Regions from separate parts of the Homo sapiens genome. Here regions 1, 2, 3, 4, 6 and 7 are each linked to region 5. Evidence: promoter capture Hi-C in 16 types of primary human blood cells and fetal thymus (Javierre and others, 2016). All regions are on one chromosome and are shown on one strand. The core of a region is centred on a gene start or on the middle of the fragment in contact, and the rest is flanking DNA. Distances in the headings are between cores, read along the strand shown.

Region 1 (2,700 bases), core at 25-2,524, 630 kb before region 5:
TTTTAGTAGAGATGGGGTTTCACCACGTTGGCCAGCCTGATCTTGATCCCTTGACCTTGTGATCTGCCTGCCTCAGCCTCCCAAAGTGCTGGCATTACAGGCGTGAGCCACTGCACCCGGCCCAGCCAATTTTTTTCTTTTTTTTGAGAAATAACTTTGTCTATATCTTATTCCAGAAATCTTTGGCTAGTTTTGGTAAGTTTTTGAGGTTTTAAATTTAAACTAAAATATGATACAATAGTGTCATCATTATGAGGTATAGTCATTCAATCTACCAATTTGTTGGAGTAGAAAAAATTCTACTGGAAAGCCTCCCACCTGTTTATATAAGGGCAGGAGAATTTGCTGGCTTCTCTATATCACTGAGTTTTGTACTTTTGTAGATTATTCGATCTTATAATGTGACCACAGGAAATCAAGTGAGTTTTTCACAGCAATTCATTTTTCTGAGTTATATCTCGAGGACTGAGTAAAGATCCTATTGACCCTTGTTCATACACAAAGTCATGAATTTAGAGACCCTGGTATTTCAGGCTGTTGGGTGACTGCAGCTGTAAATAAATACTTATTAGATCCCAACTTCCTTGTAGCTAGTAGGAGATACATTTTGACTTCTGAGACACTCTACTGAGAGTGTTAATGATTAATATTAAGTATGGCCAGTAGTTGGGAAGGCTATTATAAGCACTACAGTTTTCAGAGGGCTTTCAACTTTTTTCTTTTTTTTTGTATTCTACCATGACCAAGCTATTGCAATCACATATGATAGACATAGAACCTGCAGTCTCTGGAGTGGCATCTTGTTCAGACAGGGAGAAGGAGGGTGGAAGTATGGATGAAGGAAGTTTTGCCCTGAGTTATTTGTTGAAGCGAGGAGATGGGTACAAGGAGGTTGATGTATAGTAAACTTACATCATTGTATTCTGCACAGTTAATCAGTCATATTTAGGTTTTTGTTTGTACTTATTTGGTAATTCTCAGCTGTGTTTTGATGAGTTGGATGGATTTATTTATTGTCTCATAGTGGCTATAGAATGATTGGATGAAGAATATAAATATAAATTGTTTTAGAAAATAAAACAAACTTAAAATTGGAGCAAGTACCAAGCAGATCTGAAATACAAACCAGAGGAAATAAATAATGCCGTTAAAATTACAAGTTCAGTGGATGGATCCAGGAACAGATTAAGCCAGGATTATTGAACAAAATGTAGCTCTGAGGAAAATTTCCAGAATGCAGCTAAGTGACGAAGGAGGAAGTCAAGAAGGCATGAAGGCTATAATTAGAAGGTCTAAATATGTCTAATCAGAGTTCCAGAAGAAGACACAAGAGAATAAGAAAACATTCAACAAAATAAAAAGTGAGAATTTTATAGAATTCTTTAAAAAAAACCCAAGTTCTCAGATTAAGGAGACCTAATGAATTCCAGGCAAAAGGAATAAAAATAAATCACTACACACATTGAGGCAGAAAACCAGATAATTACAAGCAGATAGAGAATAAATCACCAACAAAGGAATGGTGGTTAGACTGATGACTGACTCCTCAAAAGCAACAATGGACACTGGAAATGGAATAGAATCTTCAATGTGCTGGGAGGAAATAACTGCCATTCCGGAATTTTCTGACTCGGTAACATTATATTTGAAGAAGGGTAAAATAAAGCCATTTTCAACATTTAAAAAACTGAATTTGCCATCAACTTCTAAGTTTTCACTAAGAGCAATCTGAAAGAATGTGTTTTAAGCAGAAGGAAGATGATTCCAGATGAAAGTTCTGAGATGCATAAAAGAATTAAAATAATGAACAAATAGAGTGCTAAGCATGCGACCAAATGTAAATGTAAAGACAAGTATTGGCTATAAAATAATATATCTATTGAGAAGAAAAAACAATATGGAATTAAAGTAGATGAGGGCTGGAAGGGGATGAATGGAGTTAAATTGTTCTAAATTGCGGGACTGTTTAGGAAAACAGCAAACATACAGATTAACTTTAGATATTGACAGGTTAAGAATGCATATTATATTTTCCACACAGGGACACATGGCGGAGAACAACACACACTGGCACCTGTGGTTGGGGGGAAAGCATCAGGAAGAATAGCTAATGGACGCTAGGCTTAATACCTGGGTGTTGGGATGATCTGTGCAGTAAACCACCGTGGCACATGTTTACCTATGTAACAAAACTGCACATCCTGCACATTTACCCCTGAACTTAAAATAAAAGTTGAAGAAAAAAAAGAATGCATATTATGTTTTCTAATTTTATGGTTTTGCCTTTCACATGATGGCTCTTACAATGATCTGGAAATAAGCCAGTGAATTAGCACAAAGAGCTCAGAAACAGATCTGTTGCCTATAGAAACTAATTTTGTACGGCTTGGGCATTTCAAATCAATGAGGAAAGAAATGGAGTATCCCATATTTAACAAATGGCAGTTGTATTTCTGTCTAAGGCAAAATTTACCTAAAATATAAGAAAATGAATTCCAGATTCATTAAAGATAAAAATGTGAAAAGTTAAAAACTATACAACATTTAGAAGAAAACACAGAATAATATCTCTAGGAATTAGAGTAAAGGAGTATTTTTAAACAAGACACAAAAAGTGAAAACTGTGAAGTACAAAATTGATACTGATTTAGCAATTTTTATTCATTAAAATATACCATAATTATAATGAAAAAAGCCTCA
Region 2 (2,700 bases), core at 5-2,504, 590 kb before region 5:
TGGGCAGTCAGGAGTTGAGCAGTGTTAGGACTTTTGAAGTCCATTGCCTTGCTCTGAACTGTTGTTTAACTCCTTTCATTTTATCTTTGACCTGATTGAAAACTCCCAAAGAGCGACAGCAACTGGGACTGCTATCTCTTTGTATCTTCGGAGAAGGGTCTCAATTAGGGATGCCAGATAAAATAGAGAACATCTAGTTAAATTTGAATTTCAGATGAGTAATGAGTAATTTTTTAGTGTAACTATGTCCAAAATATTGCTCCAGTATTGCATGGGACATGCAAAAAAAATTGCTTTTTATTTGAAATTCCAACTAAACTGAGTATTCTATATTTTAATTTGGTAAATCTGGCAACCCTAGTCTCAAGCAATGCTTTTTGATTATGACGATGGTAAAAAAAAAAAATGTCATTTTTTGAGGAAATTCTAACAGCTGCCAAATGAAGTTTCTGGGCTAGAATATGGAGGATTGAGTTCAAGTCCCAGTTCTGTTTGCATGTAACACCTGCTTTTCTGAAGCGCATAATTTTAACCTTAAAGAGAATCTCCTAACTGTGCTGGATACTCTCCCTTTATCGTGGCTGCTAATTTTCAGGGGGCCGTTCATGCTGCCTGGCGGTTAAAGCACATTTCCCTGGTCAGCCAGTCTCCTACTCTCCCAGGAGGTTATTTTGTTCCCTCTCCTCTGTCCTTGCCATCCTTCCTCGGAGTCCATGGCCTCGCTTCCTAATTTTGTTGATGAAATGAAAGCAATCGGGAGAGACCGCCCACTGCTCCCTACATTGCTCCCAGGCACATACTTGAATCTGCATCTGGGTGCTGGCTTCCCTCTGTTCTTTTGTGTGAGCTGTCTGTGCTCCAGTCATCTCGGCAGTTGCCCGCCTTCTTGCGTTATCAATATTCTCTCTGGATTATTCCCACCAGCTTTCAAATAGAATAATTTTTCCTACCTTAAAATATATCTTTCTTAAACCCATATCTACCTTCAGCTATCATCCAATTTCTCTGCTCTCCTTCAGCTACAGCAAAGCTCCTCAAAGAGTTGTCTATGCCTGCTGTTCCTCTTGAGACCCCTCCAAGGTAGCCTACAAAGCCCTACACTGTCTGGTTCTGTTGGGACTCCGCGGCCTCACCCTGTCTTCCTCCCTCTTCCCCTCCCTTCCCCTCCTCTTCTCTCCTTTCTTCTTCCCTTCATTCACTCACTGTAGCCACATGGACTTCCCTGCTGCTCCTCCAACTCATCAGACACACTTGTGCCTTGTCGCTTTTGCACTTGCTGTTCCCTCCTCTTGGAACACATCCCATCACCACATCAAGCACCTCCTTACCTCTTTGCTCACTGCCACTCTAACAGGAAAACCTTTCCTGACCACCTTGTTTAAGATAGCAGCTCTTCACCCTGGTGCATCTGCCCTCCTCCTCTGCTTCATCTCTGTAGCAATTTTCTCCATCTAACATATATTTTGATGATTTGCACATTTATTATCTGTCACTCCTACTAGAATATAAACTCCTTCATTAAAAAATCCTCAGTGCTAAGGATTGGTGTCAGATAGTAGAATGCATGAAAATGGGTATACATGCCTCGCCTGTTTCACAGGGCCATTGTGAAATACTGTATGTTAAAACGTTTTGAAAGTTGCACTATAATTATTTTTGTACTCATGATCTCTACGTGCACATTTGCAGTGTCTGTTCACCATCACGGATGCATAAAACACAGCAGTCATTTACCCAAGTGCACCTGCAACATAAATGAACAAATCATTGCCTCTCAAGACTGAGGGTAGAATCGCACTTGGCAATTATATGGATGAATGATTAGAAGACTCAATAGGGTATACTGGGAATCAAATGATAGACCTTCATAAATTTTGAATGCTTATGACCATGCTAAGCATTTTTCTAAACTGTGAAGATGATAGAAATGACTTGGACACAAGAACTTAGAGTTTTCTGGGTGATAAGACATATACATAAATGAATAGGGCAGTGCTTTGGAGTTAGCCAGGCCTGGATCTGCCACCTACCATGTTGGCACTGGAATTTCTCTACATTGGGGTTTGAGGGGGGTAGCCTGGTTGTAAGTGGAGAGGGCACTGATAGAAATTATGGGGGTCTAGAATCCCCCTTCCTCCAAATAAATCATATGGTTTCATCACCAGTTACTTACTAGCTGTGTGACCTTGGCCAATTTATTTTACTGTTGGAGTTTTGGTTTCCTCATCTCTAAAATGGGGACACTAAGACCTATCTGGGAAGGTTACTGTAAGGATTAATGACATTTAATATCATGAACTACTTAGCACAATGCCTGGCACCATCGGGACACTCAATACATGGTAGCCCTTTATTATGGTTCTCATCATAAACAATTTGGATGGAAAGTGGAAAGTGAGAGTTGTCCCAAGGGAGTTGAGGGTCAGGGCCTGGGAGAGAGGTCTCAGAAGGCTTCGTGAAGGAGGTGGTGTGGGATTCACGGTTTTCCTAGCCTTGACTCACCGTGCTGTACTGTGTCTGCAGGTCAATCTCCAGGGCCTGGAATGTGCGCTTCAGTTCGTGGATGTCACCTTGTCTGCTCTGCACAGTGGCTGGACTGGCTGCCTCCTGGGACATGGCTGCAGACTGTGGGACCAAGCAAGGCAAAGGCGTCAGCATTGGGACCTCATGGAAATGCAACCTTTGGGAAGTTTGTGCATC
Region 3 (2,700 bases), core at 162-2,661, 760 kb before region 5:
CAGATCTGTTCTGCACAGGGTTATTTCATCCAAAACTCTTCGTAACCCATTGACATCAGCCTCTACACTCTGGTGAAGAGCCAGCTCATTTTCATACCTTAAAGAGTGTTAATGATTTCCTAATTTGTCACATGGTTGGAGACATAGTCACTAGTCACTGATCAATGACAAATGCTAGCATTCTGGAATTTTGAAGATTTGGCCACAAGAGGCATTTTCAAAGCTTGTTGTATAATAATTATTGTTTCTACTTTGCAGTATTTGACAGAAAAAGAACTAGGGTATTGGGCGCTAGTTTTAATAGCAGTTCATGCTTTGTATTTAATAGTCAAAGCATAAAAAAGTAATAACATCCTGTTTATGTGAAATTCAAGTGTTTTATAATTTTGGAATAAGAGTTGCTAAATTTGATGTAATGCGTTGCATGAATTGCCATGAATTCATTTCACTCTGGCAGTCTACTTACTTGAGTCTGAAATCATCAGCTGTAAGCCTGGCATTATCGATCTGCAGAACAGCATTAGCATTGCTGGTGGTGGATGCGATGATCTAGAAATGGGAATTTGACTTTTATCATGAAGTAAACCAACTGAATCTACTTAATGCTTATTTCTAATGCTAAATTGGAATTCTCTTTAAGAAATCACAAGTAGGAGGGCATGGTGGCAGGCACCTGTAATCCCAGCTACTTGGGAGGCTGAGGCAGGAGAATCTCTTGAACCCAGGAGGTGGAGGTTGCAGTGAGCCAAGATCCCACGGTTGCACTCCAGCCTGGGCAACAAGAGCAAAACTCCTTCTCAAAAAAAAAAAAAAAAAAAAATCACAAGTAGGAATGATAAATGTTTTTAGAATTTAATAAAGAAAGGAAAACAAAATTTAGAAATAAAGGTACATGAAAATGATTGTGCAGTATGATTTCTTACCTGATTTTTAAGGTCATCAATTATTGGGAAATATCTGCTATAGTCATGATCAAGACCACGGCAAGAGCCAGGCCCAAATTTCTCATACCAGCCCTTGATCTTCTGCTCCAGGTCAGCGTTGGCCTCCTCCAGAGCATGCACACTGTCCAGGTAGGATGCCAGGCGGTCATTGAGGTTCTGCATGGTCACCTTCTCATTGCCAGAAAGGAGCCCCCGCTCATTCACAGTGAAGCCAGCACAGGGATTACCTCCCCCTGTGTTTCCTCCCGATGAGCTGCCTCCGAAGGCACTAGAGAAGCCACTTCCAATCCCTGAAATGCCACAAGAATTTCCAGTACCAAAGCTGGTTCCCCCACCATAGAGTCTGAGTGATCCAGTGGTGGGACGAGGACAGGACCTCCTGGATGCACTGGAAAGTCGAAGAGACATGGTATCAGGGCAAACGCGTTGCAGAGCTGTATTTGTGAAAGCCAGAATGGAGTGCCTTCTTGTCTAAAAGGTTTGGTTTGCCTTTTTATAGGCAAGTCCCAAGTGTGTTCTGAATGAAATTCTGCCTACACAGAGTAAAACATGGCTTGCCAGTCTCAGCAAGTTGGCATAATTGGGTGATTTTTTCTAATTAGTAACTCACTTTGCTGGGCTCATTCCTGTAGGAGGGCAGTTGCCCTCAGGTTGGTGGTTATCTGAGAAATGGGTCTGGGTGGAGCAATGTCAGGTTCATTATTACGTTTTTAAATGCTGAGTGAGTCATTCTTCACTTCCATCCTTGGAAGTAAACCTCATCAGCTCATTACAGGATAGAAATTTAGCATCATGGTTTTGGGCTATTATGCCAAGGCAGATTGTGATGTTTCTGAGGCTTTTTCTGCTTTTATTTTCACAAGTTTTTCCACATAAGTAGAGAATAGAACTGTAATCATTTCCCCAACCTGGTTCTTCAACCAATAGGTTTTTGTTTTTATTTTTAAATTCCTCTTGCCACTCTTTCCCATGGGAAGTTAACTTCCATTCTGGCTGACATGAGCATCATATTCTGTTGACACTTATGACTGAGGAGAGTTGTCTTACCTTATCCATTTTGGTAATTAGGAGCACACCCCTAATTGGTGTTATGTTTTGTGGGAGTTTGGAAAGACATTAACTTATTTCCTGACCCTGCAAAATCTGAAGCAAACCTGGTAGGAACTATTTTTTCTGTCTTAATTTATTGTGGTTTAGCTCAGATGAAAGTCATCAGTAAGGTATTTAGTCGGTGGGAATTCACATATATTTACTGAAAACTCTACCTATTATGGAAATATAAAAAATTGACAAATAAGGCCAGGCACAGTGGCTTACGCCTGTAATCCTAGCACTTTGGGAGGCTGAGGCAGGTGGATCACTTGAGGTCAGGCATTTGAGACCAGCCTCACCAACATGGTGAAACCCCATCTCTACTAAAAATACAAAAATTAGCCAGGCATCATGGCGAGGTGCCTGTAATCCCAGCTACTCGGGAGGCTGAGGCAAGAGAATCAATTGAACCTGGGAGGCAGAGGTTACAGTGAGCTAAGATTGTGTCACTGCACTCCAGCCAGAGTGACAGAATGAGACTCTGCCTCAAAAAAAAAAAAATGAGAAATAAAAATTGTATATATTTATGGTGCACGACATGATTTTTTGATATATGAATATATTGTGTAATGACCAAATCAAGCTAATTAACATATCTATTACCTCACATACCTATTTTGTGGTAAGAACATTTAAAATCTACTTTCTTATTGTTATTAACTAT
Region 4 (2,700 bases), core at 167-2,666, 570 kb before region 5:
TCTCCCTCCTCCTCCTTCTTCTTCCTTTTCTTCGTCTTCTTCTCCTTCCTCCTCTTCTCCTTCTCCCTCCTCCTCCTTCTTCCTTCTTCCTTCTCTTCTTCTTCTTCTTCTCCTCCTTCTCCTTCCTCCTCTTCCTCCTCCTCTTCCTCTTCCTCTTCTTCTTTCTTCCTTTTTTACTTTGCCATAGAGACAATACTTTAGGTTCACTAAAATTTTTGCAGTTGTGGGATATTGATTCAAGCACCTGCTCATTTAAAGTGGTTGGCTATATTTAAAATGTTTTTATTGCTTTTTATCTCATACCCCCAAACTGTGCATTTCATCTCCAATTTCATTATTGGTTGAATTCCACAGCCACAAATCATATGACTTAAAATCTTCTAACTTAGTTATTAATTTTATTGAAGATTTCCTTTAGGGGTACTCTGGTTTTATAAATAGACTAATATGACACAATTCCTACTTAAAAACTATTTTAAATTTTTATTTTAATAGTTTTTGGGAAACAGGTGGTTTTCAATTACATTAATGAATTTTTTTGTTTGCAGATGATGCAATCTATTTTTTTAAATTATTATATTTTAAGTTCTGGGTTACATATGCAGGTTTGTTACATAGGTAAACATGTGCCAGGTGGTTTGCTGCACCTATCAACCCATCACTTAGGTATTAAGCCCAGCATGCAATAGGTCTTTTCCCTACTGCTCTCCCCACCCGCCCTCCCCTGAAAGGCCTCTGTGTGTGTTGTTCCCCTCTCTGTGTCCAGATGTTCTCATGGTTCTGCTCCCACTTATAAGTGATAACATGTGGTGTTTGATTTTCTGTTCCTGTGTTAGTTTGCTGAAGATAATGGCTTCCAGCTTCATCCATGTCCCTGCAAAGGACATGATGTTGTTCCTTTTTATGGCTGTATGGTATTCCATGATGTGTATGTACCACATTTTCTTTATCCAGTGTATTATTGATGGGCATTTGGGTTGATTCCATGTCTCTGCTATTGTGAGTAGTAGCTGCAATGAACATACATGTGCATATATCTTTATAATAGAATGATTTAATATTTTTTTGGCAGGCCACCAGGTCTGTTGGGGTGATATCCAGTAGCAGGATTGCTGGGTCAGATGGTCTTTCCAGTTCTAAATCTTTGAGGAATTGCCACACTGTCTACCACAATGGTTGAACTAATTTACATTCCCACCAACAATGTAAAAGCATTCCCATTTCTCCACAACCTCACCAGTATCTGTTGTTTCTTGACTTTTTAATAATCACCATTCTGACTGGTGTGAGTTGGTATCTTGTGGTTTTGATTTGCATTTACCTAATTATCAGTGATGTTGAGCCTTTTTTCATATGATAGGTTCTTTAGTGGTGATTTCTGAGATTTTGGTGCACCCATCACCAGAGCAGTGTACACTGTACTCAATGTGCAGTCTTTTATCCCTCACTCCCTCCCACTCCTACCTTTAAAGATCCTTCAGCCTCTAGATCCAACAGTTTAGTTTTATTTTGTTTGGCCTTTCAGTATTCTGTCAAATGACACAACCTATTATGTGAGGGTCTGCTCTGGGGTGCTTAGGAGCAGTTACTGATCTTTACCCATTTATACCTAGAATTCAGAGTTGCCAGTGCTCAGGAGACAAAGCAATTTAGCACCATCACCAGTAGAGAAAACCTGGTTGTCAAGATCTTTTCACATAGCTGCGATGAAGTCATCATCATCTGAGTGACATACTTATCATTCAGTACCTTGGTATAAGCCTGAGAAGAATGGGTTGGCCTAGCCCATCATACTGGTAGTTGATCCTCATTTATCATTATCACCTTCAGAGAAGGAGGGCACCTCCTCCCTCCTTCCAGCTTCCTTCCTTTTCCAGCTGACACCAAACCTTTCTGAGGAGGCAAGTGATGTTTCAGCTAGATAACTTCTTTCAAAGGACTGCCAGAACACTCTGACTTAAGCCTGGTTTTAGAAAGATCCTTAAATCCTTTTGCACTGCCTCTGTGCAAAAGGCCTGTGCAGTGATTTCATTCCCTTAACACAACAGCAGGAAAAACAGATCCCTGCAAATGGGTGGGAAGTGCTGTTGCAAAGCTGAAACGACTTCACTCTTCTTTTTCTCCTTATGATTATCTTAATCTGATGGACATGATAGGTAATCAAATAAATCCTTTACACAAAGACCGTTGTTGTTAGTGATCCTGGAATTAACCTGCGTGTTAGCTTTAGTCCTCGCTGGGCGTTACTTTCTTTTGCCTTAGGAGGAGATGTTTTGAGTTAGCTGTGGTGTTGGTAGCTGAAACATCATCTCATGCAATTTGCTGAAGTCTTGTCCTTATAGGTTTTACCTTTAGCTCAGTGTGGTTCATGTTGCGGCAGGGCAAGGGTATGCAAGGCTGTTGGAAGGTCCTTGCTCCCAGCATTCTTCCCCACTTGATAGTTGTTGCTGCCTGAAACTCAATCATGTATTTGTTTGGTTCACTCAAATATTGCTGCTTCTTCTTCGTTTTTCTTTCTTTCTTTTTTTTCTTTTTCTTGAGACAGAGTCTTGATCTGTTGCCCAGGCTGGAGTGCACTGGCGCCATCTCAGCTCACTGCAGTCTCCACCCCCCAGGTTCAAGCCTCCCGAGCAGCTGGGATTACAGGCGCCCACCACCATGCCCTGCTATTTTTTGTATTTTTTGTAGAGATGGGGTTTC
Region 5 (2,700 bases), core at 115-2,614:
CCACTGTGGACAACTCATGGTCACTGCCTCCTGCACACCTTGGACACAGCCATGGATCTACAGAACATTCCAGCCAGTAGCAACCTGGAGGGCAGTTAAGAAGGCATTTTACGAATGAGGAACCCAGTCTTAGGGAGTAAAATGGTGAGTGAGTGGGTGGCAGAATGTGTAATGAGTTCCCAGGTCTCCTAAGACCCAACAGTACTTTTGGCACAAAAGACCTCTTTATAGGAAAAGACAAGAGGTTCTAGCATCTGGAACTCATGAGGCCACACTCCAATCCCATTCTTGCAAAAGAGGTAAAGGAATACTTTATGCAGAAGCCTGCAGGGTGCATGAGGTAGGGAGGGCGAGTTGCTCTTTTTTTTTAATTATTTTTATTTAATTAGATACAGGTTCCACTCTGTCACCTAGGCCGGAGTGCAGTGGCACAGTCATAGCTCACTGCAGCCTCTAAATCCTGGACACGAGCAATCCTATCACCTTGGCCCCCCAAAGCACTGGGATTACAGGTGTGAGCTACTGCCTCTGGCTCTTTATAATTGCCCCCACCTGTGCCCCTGTTGGTCCTAACCAGATTCCCAAGACCCCTCTCTCCCTCCCCCAGCACCACCAAGTTGAGAAGATGTGCACTGGCCTCTGCACCTGGACAGCAGGTGCATTCCAAATTTGCTGAGATTACATACCAGACAGTCATTGCCTGGGCAGGAAAGGATTTCCTTGAGTCAGCAGTAACACTGACATTAGAGCTGTGTACAGGGTACCAGCCACCTGCTCCCCTCTCTTTGACATCCGAGGACTCACCTTGTCCCGGAGCTCTTCAATGGTCTTGAAGTATTGGCTGTAGTCGCATTCTGGGCTGGTTGGGGTCTGCTTCTGGTACCAGTCATGGATCTTCACCTCCAGGTCAGCATTGGCCTCCTCCAGGGCACGTACCTTGTCCAGGTAGGAGGCCAGGCGGTCATTGAGGTTCTGCATGGTAATTTTCTCATTGCCAGAGAGGAGACCACCATCGCCACCACCAAAGCCACCACCAAAACCCCCACCAACGCCCCCTCCAAAGCCTCCACCGAAAACACTACCAGCCCCTCCACCAAAGCCACAGACCCTCATGCCACCCCCATATCCTCCTCCTGACCCTGAAGAGACAAACCTAGCAGAAGAAGCTGAGATACTTCGGCTTCCACCTCCCCCAGAGAGACTCCCCCCACCAAAGCCACCTCCCCCAGCCAGGAGGGAACCCCCTCGGGTTGAGCCACCCCCAAAGGTGGAGGAAGAAGTTTGCAGAAATGTGGTGGTCATGGCCAGGTAGCTGGAGCCCGTGAGTTCTCAGCAAACCCAAGAGATGCTGGCAGGAGGTACCAGGCCAGGCTGCACGCTGGGGCTCCTTATATACCCTTCAGAGGGTGTTGTGGGACCTCGTCTCCTCCCCTAAAGCAAAGCCAACTCCTTCTGCCTTCCTGACAAACACAGCTGCCTGCACACCTTGAGTGGGTCATGTGAAGTTTTTCTCTTCTATTTTTTTTTAATGCAACAAAAGAGATGATTCAGAATTAATAGTGTTTTTCCCCAGGGCACGGTTTTAACACTTGGATTACAGGTTCATCTCTCCATGCCAGAAGAGAGCAGCAGGGAGCGAACTCTCATCACAGCACAGCTACCAAGGCCTCTGCCTGTACTGAGAGCAGCTCAGGCCAACTGTGCCCTCAGCTGGACTTCACTTCCCCGAGCCCTGAGCCTCTCCCCAAGAGGACAGCTCCGTGTTCTTAGTTTGGGAGTCCACTGGCCGATCATTATGCTGTGTTATCCAACTCAAAACCCTGTGAGTGAGTGAGTGAGTGAATGAGTGAGTGAGTGAGTGAGTGAGAGACTGCAGGGCTCAGGGAGAGTGGAGGCCCTGGGGATGGGAATGCAGGGCCCCTGGGGGCAGGTGGAGGACAGGAGCCAGGGACCTTGAGTAGTGTTCCAGCTGAGGTGACCAGAGGAGCCAGCATCCATCCCCTTACCTGGTGCTGCAGATGGACTCCCCTCCTCCCACCTCTACTCCCCTCCTGCCATCCTCCAGCCTGTGTTCCTGGCACCCTCACAAAAGCCCAGCAGGCTTGGGACTGACAAGGGGATGACTGATGATCCCGACACCTGCCAACTGCACGGCGCTGAACCTTTGCTCGTTTCTGGGATGTGTTGGGGCAAACCTCCGCTGATAAGGCTGGGGCAAGTTCCAGGAAGCCCCTGCCTTCTCCAGGAGAGGCATGTCGCTGCTTAGCAGGGCCAGATTAGCCCCCATCTGTCCTGTCAAGTGCTGGCTGGGGACGGGCCGCTGCAGAAGGCTCTATGTGCCTGAATGCTGTGGAAGGGAAGAGAAGGGAGACTGGCAGGCAGGCTGGAAGACACCGGAGATCTTGAAGACCAAGGCATTGCTTCACACAGACGGGGAGTTGAACACTCAGGAGAGCCCTTTTCTCTGCCACCAGCTCAGGGACACCTTTCCAGGGACACCTGATACCTGTGGGCAGTGCCACTTGGAGGTGTGGCTCAGCCCTCTGGACCTGGCCCCAGGGCTTACAGAAACTCAGGAGGAGGATTCCTAGCCCAGGTTGCAGCATGGTGAAGTGGACAGGGCTCTGGAGTCCCTCAGGCCCGGGTTTGAATCCTGGCTTTATCAATTATCATGGTAAGACTGTGAGGCCTGGGTTCAAA
Region 6 (2,700 bases), core at 179-2,678, 650 kb before region 5:
GAAGCCCATGGCAAACCTCCATAAGGAATACCTGGGATCAATTCTGGCAAATGGAAGGACTGTTTTGACTTTTTATTAAAAAAAAAAAAAAAAGCCACTTTCCCAGGGACACAAATGATGAACCCGTGGTGAAATCCAATTACAACTTCCTTTTATATTATTACATAAGGGACAAATGTGAAGGGACATATTTCTCCCCAACCTAAACTCGTCACAAAGAGCAAGCAAGTGGGATTTCTAAATAAAGGGGGTTTAAGCAAGAGATTTGCAGAAATCACACATTTGCTATAGATGTGGAAAGAATGTAGCAACCTAAGGCAGTCTCAGCTTGAGAGAAGCCATGATCCATTTGTTTAATTTCTTGAGAGAATGAAAATCTGGTCAGTGGAAATGCCAGTGATTTTAGCCCCATATGGAGGTTTTTACCAAGGATTCCTTAAATCTATATTATAAGCATTTTGACTGAGCTGGTCTTGTTTGAATTATCAGTTATTATGTACTTACTACTTTTTGGACACTGGGCCAGCTGAATTACAGACATTATTTTTTAACCTTCACGGCAAGCTCTTAAAGTGGTACTGGTTTTATTTGTTTGTTTGTTTGAAACAAGGTCTTGCTTGGTTGCCCTCACTCCGGCTGGAGTGCAGTGGTGTGATCATAGCTCTCTGAAACCTTGAACTCCTGAGCTTAAGCAATCCTCCTGCCTCAGCCTCCCAAGTAGCTAGGACTACAGGTGGGCACCACAACACTGGCTATTTTTTTTTTTTTAATTTTTTTGTAGAGATGGAGTCTTGTTATATCGCGTAAGCTGGTCTTGAACTTTAGGCCTCAAGTGATCCTTCTGCCTTGGCCTCCCAAAGCACTGGGATTACGGGCATGAGCCACCTCAAGGCGCCCAGCTTCAGGTGGTACTTTTATCCTATTTTACAGATGAGCAATCTGAGAGTCCAGATGTTAAGTGATTTATTTACGCCCATGCAGCTGGGAGGAGGCAGAGATAGGATTCGGGCCTGCAGTGCCTTCTATAGATACCACAACCTTGCTGCTGGCGGTGACAATAAAAAGGGCAGAGGATACTCTGACATCCCCTAGCTATGACACCTGACACTAGGCTTCTGCCCTGCACATCTAACAGGAGGTGCTCTTTTTTTTTTCTTTTCTTTTAAGCTTTCTCCTTGAATTTCTCAGTGTATGGGCTGAGACCTAGAGAATGACTTTTCATGGCTTATAAGCAACAACATGACACATGAAATTCTGTAAACACACAGGCAAATGCGGTTTTCATTTTAGCTTTGACCTGTAACTACATCTCCAGAGATCTTATAAAGCACAAGTTAAACTTGCACTCCCCACACAAGAACTTGATGTTATGGTTGTTAACTATTATTCACTCCCAAGTGTCCCCCAAGACAGAGAGATTCCATTTTACTGCCATAGAAATGAAAACAGAAGCAAATAAAATGTCAAAAGAAATGTGCCAAGTTCAAAATTGTACCTCAGTGATTTGATCACATAATACGGGAATATGATTAAGTTGAATTTTTGAACTTGGAATTGATTTTGTGCTGAAAGGTACACTTTCCAACTCTAATGCCTATGGTAAAATTTAAATAATATTGCTCAATCTCTAAAAATTATGTTTATATATTATTTGTTTATGTTTCTATACATATAACATATTATCCTAGACTAAGCTTGTTAGGTAGGTACTACATCTAATTTATTTTTTATCCTGAGTCCTAGCCTAGTGTTTCGCTGAACTTTATCACTGCACTCCTTGAATGATTTCATTTGAAAGAAGTTAAGTCTTAATGTGTTTGAATGTGTCATTTGAAATTCATTTCATTTGAAAATGACTGTGCCCTAATTTACTGGTATGCTTTGACCAATATTTATTCTGAATTCAGTTATGAATGGGGAGCAACTTCAGAAGTTGAAAAGGGAAATATTTCTTCTTCAGTGGCTTTTTTTTTTTTAAGTGGGAGGCTAAGTTAAATAATCAAGACTCTGCTTTAGAGGTTTTAGAAGTGAAAATAATTTTCTTTGACAGCCACATTAATGTATAAGGCAGTGGTGATGTAAAAAACAATAAACAATCTTGGGCTTGTTGGCAGAGTGATTGCATAAGTTGAGGCAGAGAGGAAAATGATTATAGCCAGGGCAAACTGTTCAAAAGAATTATATCTTCCATTTTTGTAGAGTTTAGGAAATGTTCAAAATAGAGAAAATTAGTTATGTGGTTTTTACAAGTCTTTAGATTTTTATTGAGTAAATCATACCCTCATCTTTTCATGTCAGGTTGGTTTCTGTCCTGGTCTTTGCAGGGTTTTCTACCTGAGTTTTTTCCCGTAAGACAGACCTGTCATTTTCTGCAACTCGCTGATCCCTTGATCTGTAACATCTTTCACTTTGGATAACATTATAAAATCCTGTGAGTGACTGAGAGAATTTTGGGTTGCCTACATTTTATGTATTGTGCTTTTGAGATGAGGGTTAAACAAGGACCCTAAGGGGTATGAGTGAGATTGACTTCTGGGCTCCAGAGATCAATGGTTCTTGAAAGCAGGGGAGAATTTTGAAAGTGGTAGGAGACAGGAAGATGATAAAATAATACCCTGATGAGAGGAATCTTGGAAATGAGCCTAGGGGAGAGAAAACAGAGATGTTTGAAAGAGAATTCAAAAATAAAAATCACTACTA
Region 7 (2,700 bases), core at 163-2,662, 710 kb before region 5:
TATTTCCCTAATGTCTAATGATGTCAAGCATCTTCTTTGTGTGCTTATTTGCCATTTGTATCTCTTCTTTGATAAAGTATCAGTTCAAATCTTTTGTCCATTTTTTAATTGGTTTGTGGTTTTTTTCTTGTTATTGAGTTGTAGTTTTTTATATTTATATTCTATATGCCAGTCCTTTATAAGATTTGTATTTTTGTGACTATTTTCTCCCAGTCTTTGGCTTTTTAAAATTATTTTGACGGTGACTTTCAATAGATGACACAAACAAATGGAAAAACATCATATGCTCATGGATTGGGTGAATAATGATATTGGGTCAATATTGTTAAAATGACCATACTGCCCAAAACGAACTACAGGTTCAATGCTATTCCTATCAAATCACCAATGTAATTTTTCACAGAACTAGAAGAAACTATTCTAACATTCATATGGGACCGATGAAGATCATGAATAGCCAAAGTAATCCTAAGTGAAAAGAACACAATGAAATACAAATGGGCTATATAATGATCAAAATACATGAGCAGATGTTTCACCAAAGAGGAGATACGGATGGCAAATAGCCACATGAAAAGCTGTTCAGGCCAGACACAGTGGCTCACGCCTGTAATCCCAACACTTTGGGAGGCTGAAGTGGGTGGATCACCTGAGGTCAGGAGTTTGAGACCAGCCTGGCTGACATGGTGAGACCTCATCTCTACTAAAAATACAAAAATTAGCTGGGCATGGTGGCGCATGCCTGTAATCCCAGCTACTCAGGAGGCTGAGGTAGGAAAATCACTTGAACTTGGGAGGCAGAGGTTGCGGTGAGCTGAGATTGCTCCACTGCACTCCAGCCTGGGCGCCAGAGAAAGTCTCTGTCTCAAAACAAGAAAAAAGAGAGAGAAAAAAAAGAAAATAAAAAGAAAAGCTATTCAGCATATTTTCCATTAGGGAAATGCAAATTAAACTTCAGTGAGCTATAAGTACATACCTATTAGAAAAATACTGATAATGCCAAATACTGATGAGGATGCAGAAAAATTTGCTCTCCCATTTATTGCTGGTGGCAATATAAAATGGTACAGCTTCTCTGGACAACAGTTTGGCGGTTTCTTACAAAACTGAACATGCACCTACCATATGACCTAGCAATTATATGCTTGGACATATAACCCAGAGAAATGAAAATGTATGTTCACACCAAAACGTGTACACAAATGTTCAGTCTCAAAAGGTTACATACTGTGTGATTACACTTATATAGCATTCTCTAAATGGTAAAACTATAGAGATGGAGATTAGTAGTTGCCAGGGGCCAGGAACTGGGAAGGGAGTGTTGAGGTACACATGTGAATACAAAAAGGTAGCATGAAGGAGTTCTTTTGTGGTTATGAAATGGTTCTGTATCTTGATTTGGGTGGTGGTACAAAAATTGTACCTATACATGGGGTACAATTGCACAGACACACAATTTTTTTTTGGTTTGTGGTTTTTTCTTGTTATTGAGTTATAGTTTTTTATATTTATATTCTATATGCCAGTCCTTTATAAGATTTGTATTTTGTGAATACACATGCAGGTTAGGAAAAACAAAAACTGAGTAAGCTCTGTAGTTAAACAGTGATGTACCAATGCCAATTTTTAAATTTTAGATATTATACCCTAGCCTATAGAAGATGTCTCTATTTGGGGAAGGTGAGTCAGGAGTACACTGGACTCTACTATTTTTGCAATTTCCAACGAGTCTATAATTATTTCAAAATTTAAAAAATGTGATTACACATTTTTTTCTGCTTTTTTTTTACTACTTATATGGATGTTTAAGACACTCATTTGGATTATTTCTAGTATGTTTGTTATGGGTTTAATAGTTTATCATTTACTGAATAAACCTTACTTTCTTAGGGTTTAGATTCTTCCTTTATCATACACTAATGTCCATTTATATATAATCATTTCCTACACTCTTAGTTCCAGTGATGAATTAAATTGTGCTTCAGTTTCTTCATCTGTAAAATGGAGATAATAATAGTATATATGTCATAGAGTTCATTCCTTCAAAAACGATATTTTTGGTACCTAACCTGTGTTAGTCACTGTTCTAGTGCCTCAGGATACATGAATGGATAAAGTAGACGAAGATCAAGCGTTGTCTTTCTGGAGTGTACCGTCTAGCAGGGGAAAAGGATGACTAATAATGAATACATTGTATAGTAAGTTGGAAACAGTGCTGTGAAAAAAAGAAAAAGTGGAAAACCTAGGCAATACCATTCAGGACACAGGCATGGGCAAAGACTTCATGACTGAAAAACCAAAAGCAATGGCAACAAAAGCCAAAATTGACAAATGGGATCTAATTAAACTAAAGAGCTTCTGCACAGCAAAAGAAACTATCATCATGGTGAACAGGCAACCTACAGAAAGGGAGAAAATTTTTGCAATCTACCCATCTGACAAAGGGCTAATATCCAGAATCTACAAAGAACTTAAACAAATTTACAAGAAAAAAACAACCCCATCAAAAAGTGGACAAAGGAAATGAACAGACTTCTCAAAAGAAGACGTTTATGCAGCCAACAGACATATGAAAAAATGCTCAACATCACTGGTCATCAGAGAAATGCAAATCAAAACCACAATGAGATACCATCTCACACCAGTTAGAATGGCGGTCATTAAAAAGTCAGGAAACAACAAATGCTGGAGAGGATGTGG

The links. The method cuts DNA at HindIII sites, captures the fragments that hold promoters and counts their contacts. A CHiCAGO score of 5 or more calls a contact.
Region 1: a contact is called between a fragment that was not itself captured here and the fragment with the promoter of KRT15 in region 5, in 9 of 17 cell types (naive CD8 T cells, M2 macrophages, total B cells and 6 more). The highest score is 9.3, in naive CD8 T cells.
Region 2: a contact is called between a fragment that was not itself captured here and the fragment with the promoter of KRT15 in region 5, in 9 of 17 cell types (non-activated CD4 T cells, activated CD4 T cells, total CD8 T cells and 6 more). The highest score is 11.3, in non-activated CD4 T cells.
Region 3: the fragment with the promoter of KRT25 here is called in contact with the fragment with the promoter of KRT15 in region 5 in 3 of 17 cell types (M1 macrophages, total CD8 T cells and M0 macrophages); the score reaches 9.0 in M1 macrophages.
Region 4: a contact is called between a fragment that was not itself captured here and the fragment with the promoter of KRT15 in region 5, in 5 of 17 cell types (naive CD8 T cells, activated CD4 T cells, naive B cells and 2 more). The highest score is 7.2, in naive CD8 T cells.
Region 6: a contact is called between a fragment that was not itself captured here and the fragment with the promoter of KRT15 in region 5, in 15 of 17 cell types (M1 macrophages, M2 macrophages, naive CD8 T cells and 12 more). The highest score is 14.8, in M1 macrophages.
Region 7: a contact is called between a fragment that was not itself captured here and the fragment with the promoter of KRT15 in region 5, in 5 of 17 cell types (erythroblasts, monocytes, M2 macrophages and 2 more). The highest score is 8.5, in erythroblasts.

What each region holds. Positions count from the first base shown.
Region 1 is chr17:40,887,890-40,890,589 of GRCh38, forward strand. All of the region lies in intron 1 of LOC105371777 (a long non-coding RNA gene), which reads left to right. Among named protein-coding and RNA genes, the nearest start is that of KRT20, 4.0 kb to the left of the region's middle. The HindIII fragment of the contact is 6,046 bases long and covers 1-2,700 here.
Region 2 is chr17:40,925,736-40,928,435 of GRCh38, forward strand. It overlaps KRT23 (keratin 23), which reads right to left. Exons shown (of 9, transcript NM_015515.5): 6 at 2,503-2,625. Among named protein-coding and RNA genes, the nearest start is that of KRT23, 11 kb to the right of the region's middle. The HindIII fragment of the contact is 4,468 bases long and covers 1-2,700 here.
Region 3 is chr17:40,753,920-40,756,619 of GRCh38, forward strand. KRT25 (keratin 25) reads right to left here and starts at 1,412. Exons shown (of 8, transcript NM_181534.4): 1 at 924-1,412; 2 at 467-549; 3 at 1-97. The coding sequence starts at 1,352. The HindIII fragment of the contact is 3,727 bases long and covers 222-2,700 here.
Region 4 is chr17:40,942,746-40,945,445 of GRCh38, forward strand. The region is part of intron 1 of LOC107985072 (a long non-coding RNA gene); the gene reads left to right. Among named protein-coding and RNA genes, the nearest start is that of KRT23, 6.4 kb to the left of the region's middle. The HindIII fragment of the contact is 5,430 bases long and covers 1-2,700 here.
Region 5 is chr17:41,517,526-41,520,225 of GRCh38, forward strand. KRT15 (keratin 15) reads right to left here and starts at 1,365. Exons shown (of 8, transcript NM_002275.4): 1 at 805-1,365. The coding sequence starts at 1,302. RefSeq lists an enhancer at 1,705-2,700. The HindIII fragment of the contact is 23,808 bases long and covers 1-2,700 here.
Region 6 is chr17:40,870,547-40,873,246 of GRCh38, forward strand. All of the region lies in intron 1 of LOC105371777 (a long non-coding RNA gene), which reads left to right. Among named protein-coding and RNA genes, the nearest start is that of KRT12, 4.7 kb to the left of the region's middle. The HindIII fragment of the contact is 527 bases long and covers 1,166-1,692 here.
Region 7 is chr17:40,811,858-40,814,557 of GRCh38, forward strand. It overlaps LOC105371776 (a long non-coding RNA gene), which reads left to right. Exons shown (of 4, transcript XR_934753.2): 4 at 2,091-2,271. Among named protein-coding and RNA genes, the nearest start is that of KRT10-AS1, 5.9 kb to the right of the region's middle. The HindIII fragment of the contact is 4,415 bases long and covers 1-2,700 here.